Regions from separate parts of the Homo sapiens genome. Here all the other regions are linked to region 2. Evidence: promoter capture Hi-C in human tissues and cell types (Jung and others, 2019). All regions are on one chromosome and are shown on one strand. The core of a region is centred on a gene start or on the middle of the fragment in contact, and the rest is flanking DNA. Distances in the headings are between cores, read along the strand shown.

Region 1 (3,213 bases), core at 5-2,504, 86 kb before region 2:
CTGTGTTTATTCTATGCATAAATATTCATGTCAGTTAGTTGTTTATTGTGGTGTGTAAATTTTATCACTAAAGTTTTTTTTGCTTTATTGCTCTCTGCCACAAGTTTATTTTTATCTGATAATTATATTATGACCCTACTTTAAAAAAATTCATTCCTTAATGTTTTTGCCAATATTTTATGCTTTATATATTTTCATTCACTTTAATTTAAAAGCTTTTCTCATATATAGCATCTTCACTTTTGCATTTTTAATCAATTAAGGATTAAAATTTTAACCATTTATCACTAGTGGTTTTACAGGTATCTTTGATTTAACACTTTTATTAATTTTATACTAGGATTTCTGCTTTTAAAGTTCCTGTTGCTCTTTTTTTTTTTAACATTTAACTCTGCAGCCTGTATTTTCTTGTCTTTAAAATAAATGATTGAGTGTTTTCCTTCTGGTAATTTGTAAGGTTTATGGCTGTTTTAGCACTTTTGGTGATTAACTTTAAAATCTTAAGTATATTTACCATAAATATTTGATTTAGCAGCTGTGAAGATATCTTTGGGTCTCTGCTCTAATTGAAAAATCATCCGTATTTACAGAATGTACCTCTCTGACTCTGACATCAAGAGTCTGATTATTTCTGCATTATCAAAGTTTATAACATTTATATTATTTCTTGTAACCACATTTTGCAGAATTGTTTACTTACAGCCAGTCCCTTTACCACAAGTAGGCCATCCTTCTATTTATATTTTGTGTGGTTAGAGTTCATCAAGAAATAGCTCTTTCAGGCTGGGCACGGTGACTCACACCTGTAATCCTAGCACTTTGGGAGGCCAAGGTGGGCGGATCACTTGAGGCCAGGAGTTCGAGATCAGCCTAGCCAACATGGTGAAACCCTGTCTCTACTAAAAATACAAACGTTTGCCAGTGTGGTAACCCAGCTACTTGGGAGGCTGAGGCAGGAGAATTGCTGGAACCCGGTAGGTGGAGGTTGCAGTGAGCTGAGATCACACCATAGCACTCCAGCCTGGGTGACAGAGCAAGACTCTGTCTTAAAAAAAAAAAAAAAGAAAGAAATAGCTCTTTTAATGAGGGCAGGTTTTAGGTTTCGGACTCCCTTAGTTTATATACATTTGAAACAGTCTGACTTAGGCTTCAAACTGATTAATATTTCATCAGTGCTTAAGATGTGCAAGCCATTATTTTGAGGATATTACAAATATATAGTTTAATTTCATATGAAATGGATAATGTTATTTCAAATGTTCAGATGAGAGCACTGAGATCAAGCAAGGTTAAGTAAATTACTCAAAGACACAAAACTAGAATTTTACATCCTGTGATGACAACTTGTCTGATTTTATAGTTATTAGAATTCACTTTATTTCTCTGAGGACATTGCAGGTACTATGTGTTAGTCCACTTTGCATTCCTATAAAAATACTTGAGATGGGATAATTTATAAAGAAAAATGTTTATTTGGCTCTCAGTTCTGCTATCTGGAAGATTGGACATCTGGTGAAAACCTCAGGCTGCTTCCACTCATAGCAGCAGGTGAACAGGAGCTAGGGTATACAAAGATCACATGGCAAGAGAGGGAAGCAAGATTAGGAGTGGGAGGAGGTGCCAGTCTCTTTTTAACAACCAGCTTTTACAGGAACTAATAGAGTGAGAACTCATTCATTACCATGAGGATGAGTCACCAAGCCATTCATGAAGGGTGTGTCCCTAAGACCCAAACACCTCTCATTAAGCCCCACCTTCAACATTGAGGACCAAATTTCAATATGAAATTTGGGAGGACAGACATCCAAACTATAGCATGTTGCTATAAAGGAGTCAAAATTTCCTCACTTATAGATGGCTTTATTTATTTATTTTTGCTTTACTATACCTACATTCCTTTTTAAAAATAGAGCATAATATAGCTTTTATTAATTAATAAAAATATTTTATTTCTTACTTTTTATGTTTCACTCCTTTTGTTACACTCCAAAGGTGTTTTACCTAATTTTGTTTTGTGTCTCTTTTATTAATGTATTCTGTTAACTTCTCTAATAAACTTAAAACATAACACATTTTCTCGATTTGTTTACGTAAGCATTATCTTCTGCTCTCCCCATTATGAAAGATGGGAATATTACTATCATTGAAGTTCCACATGCCATCTCTTTCTTCCTCTGCTGCCCTCACCTCCTCTTCCTCTTCTTTTCATTCCTTCCCTTCTTCCTCCTCCATCCTCTTTCAATGTCTATTAGCAATTCTTGGTATTCCTTGGCTTGAAGCTACATAACTCCAATATCTGCACGCATCTTCACATGGCCTTCTCCCCTGTTTCTCTGTATCACAAACTTACCTCTCCTTTCTCTTATAAGGGCACCAGTCACTGGGCTTAGGACCCACCCTGAATCCAGGATGATTTTGTCCCACAATCATCAGAGGAAGGATTAGGCAGCAACATCTGCTGTTCTGCAGCCTCTGCTGGTGATACCCAGGCAAACAGGGTCTGGAGTGGACCCCCAGCAAACTCCAACAGACCTGCAGCTGAGGGTCCTAACTGTTAGAAGGAAAACTAACAAACGGAAAGGACTTTCACACCAAAACCCCATTGGCACGTCACCATCATGAAAGACCAAAGGTAGATAAAGCCACAAAGATGGGGAGAAACCAGACAGAAAAGCTGAAAATTCTAAAAATCAGAGCACCTCTTCTCCTCCAAAGGAACGCAGCTACTTGCCAGCAACAGAACAAAGGTGGATGGAGAATGACTTTGACGAGTTGAGAGAAGAAGGCTTCAGATGATCGGTAATAACAAACTTCTCCAAGCTAAAGGAGGATATTCGAACCCATCGCAAAGAAGCTAAGAACTTTGAAAAAAGATTAGACGAATAGCTAACTACAATAACCAGTGTAGAGAAGTCCTTAAATGACTAATGGAGCTGTAAACCATGGCATGAGAACTATGTGATGAATGCACAAGCTTCAGTAGCCGATCTGATCAAGTGGAAGAAAGGGTATCAGTGATTGAAGATCAAATGAATTACATGAAGCAAGAAGATAAGTTTAGAGAAAAAAGAGTAAAAAGAAATGAACAAAGCCTCCAAGAAATATGGGACTATGCAAAAAGATGAAATCTATGTCTGATTGGTGTACCTGAAAATGATGGGGAGAACAGAACCAAGTTATCCAGGAGAACATCCACAACCTAGCAAGACAGGC
Region 2 (3,041 bases), core at 351-2,850:
ATCCAAAGAATAATGTACTTTTTGCACTGGCAAGACTCAAACCATATTATTGTTACTTCCTCCCAGTTACATATTTTGCAAGATATTGACAATTGTCTAAAGGAAGACCAAACAGATGTAGGTGGGAGCTACTGTCATTTGAACAACATTGAAAAGAAAAATACTAAAAAAGAAACATGAGGGCATATAAAGGAGCGCTGGGGCTGTGATGTTTATTTTGAATCTGTGAAGCATTGTCATGTGGAAGATTTATTCTGTGTAGCACCAAGATGCAAACTAGGAATTAGAGGTAAAAGTCTCAAAAAGACAAATCGTGGCTTGAGACCTTGGTTTAATGTAAGAAACAGTTTTCTCACCCTTAGAGCACTCCCATAAGGATGGAAGTAGTGAATTGTGGTGGTCACATTCAAGCTAGATGGGGACATGTCAGCAATGTTATCAGGAGGCTTCTACTCTGAAGCTGAAGTTCAGACAAGATTTCCAGGCTCTTCCCAAGTGCAAGATTGTAATTACTTAAATGCAATATTTTTACCATGTTTATTAAGAATAAAAGGATCATGAATTCACATTCTGACAAATGCTAGAATACTTATTATTAGAGACAAAACCAGTGCATGAGAGAATGGCAGGTGACATCAGCCCTGAATCAATGGGAAGAAAGACCCAATGGGATGTGGTATTTACCAGAGAGAGCACTTCTGCTTAGATTGCTACATCCTACAGTGAATGTTTAATATCATTGAGTATATTGGTGGTCTGTCATGCTTGACAACATTAACTATGATCATATTTATGACACTTGGCGTCCTTCAAGAATTTGTAGCTCTATTTCACATGACACTTAACTATCGCAAATACAAATTCCAGCTAAATAGACCCTTCAGTTTAAAAACAGTCTCATTCTCAAATTTTAAGGAGAAAGTGAAGACGGAGATGTCTTAAAGACTCGGCAAGTACTAAGTTGGCAAATGTCAAATGTTAAAATAAGTTTATATTAAATGTTAAAGTGTTTGCCTGGAATGACTTTTCCATTGTCCTGCTTGAGAAACACAGAGGCACCTCCTTATTGCTTTTATATTTGCTTTACAAAGACAAATGTATCAACATGCTCTGTATTAATTGTATGTTGACATTTTTGTCATATCCACAGACTGATGCATGTCTGTGCATGGTTTATAATAAGTGCACGTAAAAATAGAGAAAATAAGTAGAAAAAGAGAGAGATTTAACTCTCACCCCCCACCCCCCAAAAAAACAGATTAAATTAGTTTTCATTACTTTTTTTTTTTTCTTCAGCTTCAGCTCTCCCTCAGCGAGGGAGGAGGCTGTGGGCTGCGGACTGAGTGCTGGAATGAGGAGTAATTGAGCTTCAGCTGAGCCGGACGTAGCTTTCTCCTCCTGGTGTCATTGCTGCAGCCTCCAGTGCCGGGTCCCTAGTTCCTCAGCTGCCTATCTTCCCGGTGCAACATCGCCTGTAAAGACAGCAAAGCCACCGCAGAAGTTGCCCGGCAGAAGACTCCGGAGGCATTGGCTCAGTAACTTTTCACGTCATTTTCTGCTCGGGAGCCCCTTCTAGCCTCTCCGCGCAGCCTTTCCCACCGCAAATCACCAGTGCTCATGGGGCAGGCGGAGAGGAGCTTGCAGCATTGAGCGGAACCGGACTTGAGCCCGTGATGTCCGGCACCAAATTGGAGGACTCCCCCCCTTGTCGCAACTGGTCATCTGCTTCGGAGCTGAATGAAACTCAAGAGCCCTTTTTAAACCCCACCGACTATGACGACGAGGAATTCCTGCGGTACCTGTGGAGGGAATACCTGCACCCGAAAGAATATGAGTGGGTCCTGATCGCCGGGTACATCATCGTGTTCGTCGTGGCTCTCATTGGGAACGTCCTGGGTGAGTCTCCTCCCGGGCAGCCCTCCTAGGGGCTATCACCCCCTCTCCGCCCCGGGCTGAGAAGGCTCTAAAGAGACCCCTCCCTCCCCCGGGAAGCAAACAAAGAGGTCGCTGCTCTCGGATGGGGTTTTCTAATAAAATAATAATAATAATAGAAAGTTTTCTGATTTTCCGAACCGGGACCGAGCCCTGGAAAGGTTATTCCCTGTTTTGCAGGAATAACGGGGAAACCGCGTTTCTTTTTCGAGCACCTAGATTACAAGCGCAGGGAGAGGGGCCGCGGCAGGGATCTCCAGGTGGATTTTGTTGAGTGTGTGTGTGTGTGGGTGGGTAGGTGGGGGAGTCAGTCATCCCTTTGTGTAACGTGGCTGGGTGTTTCAGGGGGGTTGGGACGAGACAGAGCTTGCAGAATACAAAGCTACATCCCTAAGGAGCAAGCTCTCTGTGGCTGTGGAAGTCACAAAGCATTTGTGAGCTAGGTGGCATTGCCCTTTGGCGAGGAGGTTTAGTCTCCAGTCAAGAGGTGGTAATGAACCAGCAGGGAGTGGAGACGGAGGCAAAGCAGGGAAGTGCACTCACTCATAGAAGCTGAATTAAACAGGATCCATGCCTGGAGCAAGAAGGAGGGGCATCGGAGAAAAGTACCACAGAGATCTCAATCATCCATCCATCCATTCATTCTTACATCCATTCAGCCAAATATTTTTTTTTTTCAGTCTGCTTGTTGCCAGGCTCAGGAATTATTCATGTCAACTGTTTGTTGTTGTTTTGTTTTGTTTTGTTTTCTCCAAAGATGAGACTAAGCTTAATGCTAGGCTATTTGTCCCGGTCTAGGTCTGTATGCAAACACGGGTTTCCTCGACCCCTCATCCCCCTCCCCCTAAACAATTTCTGAGGGTTGGGGAGGGGGTGAGATGGCAACATGGTGAGTGCGATGATGGAATGTATTAGGGCAGTTGGGGAATATACCTCCAGAAAAGGGGCTTTGGAAGGGAGGGATAACTTGAAATAAATTGTGAATGGAAGGAGAGTGTACCTTGATGAATGAAGAGTAGAAGGCTGGGAGACTTTTCACATGCAGAGGGCAGTGTGGAGGAAGTCTCTGCTGAAAATGACAGGAGATGGAGGAGGCTAGGAGTTGCTCT
Region 3 (3,183 bases), core at 447-2,946, 100 kb before region 2:
CACCTTTTTTGATTATTAAAATATTTTTGACCTGTGGATTTCCTGAAAAACAGGTCTCTGAACTACACTTTAATTTTTACACTCCTGTAAAAAAAGACAAGTTGTTATATGTATAAGGATCTACTTTGCTCCTTAAAACCTATGCCAGTGTCTCAGTAATAGAGGTAAGATGAATTATTATAAATCAGAATAAAGCATAATGAATATAGTAAAATTGTGCTTGGAAAAATATCCTAACCACGTGAGATTTGCACACCTAAATTGTCTTATATTGTTTAATTTGGCACATTCTTTGTTTTTCAAGTTTTATTATTTTTATTAGGAAATACAAAGAATATTAAGTTATTTGCGGGGGTTGGGGCACAATCTTTGTCTTGAAGTATAACATTTTGGCAAGAGATAGGGTGAGAAAAGAAAAATTCTAAGGAAGTAAAATGATTTGGGTAAAGACCAATTCCCTGTGAGTAATAATTGGTGAAAGATACTTTTTTCCTATTTTTCTTCATGACTTGGGACAGAGTTTTAGCCATGAGGGCAGTATTTATTATAATTCAGTGGACATGATGAGGTCTCCAAAAGTACTTAAACTAGACCTCTAGATTCAATTTAAAGTCGTATTCTAATATCTCAAACTAAAAAGAAAATTGTGACTTTTAATTCTACTTCTTTGAATTTCTGAGGCAAATTTCAACAAAGATTCAATCATATTTTTAAATTAATTCAATCTTACTTTAAAAACAGTAACGTTTGATACAAATAAATATACAATAAGGAAAAATCTCTACTTCAGGAAAAAAATCTATCAGCTACTGTTTTATAGTGATCTTAATTTCTTTTAGCACATTCAGTGGCAGAAATTATTTTATTTGATTGTGTTTTCTTTAGAAAAATATCCTTTTATTAGTTCTTGAACTATTACTAGCTTTCACAACACAAAATTTAAAAGGATTAACTTTCTAATTTGTCAAAATTATAATAATAACCCATATTTAAAAGATAATCAGAAAAAAACTTAAGATTTGGACATTGTATTTTTAATTTTTATATTACATGGTAGTTATATCATGTAGTGACTTCATTAACAGAGAACTTAGTTCAATAGTTATTTTCATTTTATGTTAATTCCTCAATTATTTGGTTTTATATTATGTAGGACATATAAGGATAAGCAGGTTATATGTAATTTTTTAATCAGCATTTTAATAAAAATAATTGAAGTCAACACTGAAAAGAAATGTGACCTACAACATATCACGGCATAGCAAAGCTTATTTTTGTAGCATGTGCCAGCAAATACAAGGCACTTGCCGTGATGCACACATACATATCTTCCTAGGCACCTTCATTCATTCTGCTCTCAAATTGTTACCTTCAACACTTCGTGCTTTCTTGTTTCCAAACATTGAGATAATAATATTAGCATGATTGTAGACCATTGTTACCAGCCTGAAAGCAAAAAGGGAATTATGAGAGTGGTTATCAAGTATTTTGGCAAGAGGAGGGGAAGCTTAGAGTAGAAGTGCCTTTGTATGTTAGAGGTGGGCCTTAGGAAGAAGAGGAGAGCAAAAGAGATAAATTTGAGTGTGGTTATTCAGAGGAGTTGATATCCGATGTCACAATGATTCTAACAAAATAGATTTCATCATAGTGCTTGACTTTGATACATTTCGCATTTATCAGGAACTGGGCTCTATCATCTACAGTTTCCCTCTACTCCATCCTTAATCCTCAACACCTGTACCCTTTTCTCACCATCTCCTTATGTTAATTTTGAGTTTAAGAATGTATTGCGGTTTTAAAATAATATTTCAAAGGGCCGGCGCGGAGGCTCACACCTGTAATCCCAGCACTTTAGAAGGCCAAGGCCGGCGGGTCATGAGGTCAGGAGATCGAGACCATCTGGGCCAACATGGTGAAACCCTGTCTCTACTAAAATACAAAAAAATTAGCTGGGAGTGGTGGTGCGCGCCTCTGGTCCCAGATACTCGGGAGGCTGAGGCAGGAGAATCGCTTGAACCCTGGAGGTGGAGCTTGCAGTGAGCTGAGATTGCACCACTGCACTCCAGCCTGGAGACAGAGTAAGATTCCGTCTCAAAAAAAAAAAAAAAATCAAATATATCACCCTTTTTTGATTACAAATAGTTTAGTAAATTCACTATGCTAATGCTTTTATTTTCTCTTTAAAGATTTGTAAAGAAAGAAAGAAAGAAAGAAAGAAAGAAATTATATTCTCCCAGTTTCTGGTCTAACATGTAAGGAGCTTGGATGTCACCACTCCACCCTAATAAATGTGGAGATGAACGAACTGAAAAATCAACTCTTCTTGGATCTGCAAGAGAAGTGAGGATTCAGGGCAAACCAGTGCCCCCAGGATTGGAAAGACAAATAGGCAAAGACAGAGAGTCATGGCTTACTGGAGTACCGATTCATGAACTGAAACATGGGAACAAGTGCTGGGGTAGGAAAAACGGAACTGTAATTGACTAATTGCTGGAAACTTAGTGTGGACAAGTATGATAGACAAAAGCTTCCGGTAGACCTAGTCATAGGGGAGCCCATACAATTTTGTGAGTTTTATCTCCTGGAAAACTACTGAGTTCTCATAGTCAGTACCTGAGAAAAATCCCCTCATGATTCCTGCGGTTGGAAGAGTAAAGGAACCATCTTGAAATATGTCAGATAATTATTTCCTGAGCAAGGTTTGCCCTCAGAAGAAAGTATTTAACTAGAGCTAACTTATCTGGGAAAAGGGAAATATTTAATTCCAGCTGGCTCTAGCCTTCCACTTGTAAGAAGAGAAATACTAAACTCAAGCCCACTCTAGTCATTAAGGGGTAAGGGGAGAAGATTGAGAAGCACTTGTGAAGTTTAGTCCTGAGACACACGCTTACTAAAAGACTGAAACCTAATCATAGGACTGTAGAATGCTTTCCCTCCCTACACTCTACCAGCACATTACTAAAGTTCTGTTTACAGCAGTATCTTTTACCCAACACATCATGTCTGGCTACATAGAAAAAATTACCAGGCATACTAAAAGGCAAAAAATACAGTTGGAGGAGACAGAGCAGTCTCCTCAGAATGAGACAGATACGGCAGAGATACTGGAATGATCAGATTGGGATTTTCAAACAACTATAATTAATATGCTAAAGGCTCTTATAGATATAGGAGACAGAACAC

Evidence for each region. The method cuts DNA at HindIII sites, captures the fragments that hold promoters and counts their contacts. A contact is called where the count stands out against the background at its distance.
Region 1: a fragment that was not itself captured here is called in contact with the fragment with the promoter of HCRTR2 in region 2 in 2 of the 25 tissues and cell types used here (heart right ventricle and small bowel).
Region 3: a contact is called between a fragment that was not itself captured here and the fragment with the promoter of HCRTR2 in region 2, in 2 of the 25 tissues and cell types used here (dorsolateral prefrontal cortex and small bowel).

The regions. Positions count from the first base shown.
Region 1 is chr6:55,087,435-55,090,647 of GRCh38, forward strand. No RefSeq gene overlaps it. Among named protein-coding and RNA genes, the nearest start is that of HCRTR2, 85 kb to the right of the region's middle. The HindIII fragment of the contact is 3,959 bases long and covers 1-3,213 here.
Region 2 is chr6:55,172,915-55,175,955 of GRCh38, forward strand. HCRTR2 (hypocretin receptor 2) reads left to right here and starts at 1,601. Exons shown (of 7, transcript NM_001384272.1): 1 at 1,601-1,896. The coding sequence starts at 1,674. The HindIII fragment of the contact is 12,053 bases long and covers 1-3,041 here.
Region 3 is chr6:55,070,702-55,073,884 of GRCh38, forward strand. No RefSeq gene overlaps it. Among named protein-coding and RNA genes, the nearest start is that of HCRTR2, 100 kb to the right of the region's middle. The HindIII fragment of the contact is 4,425 bases long and covers 1-3,183 here.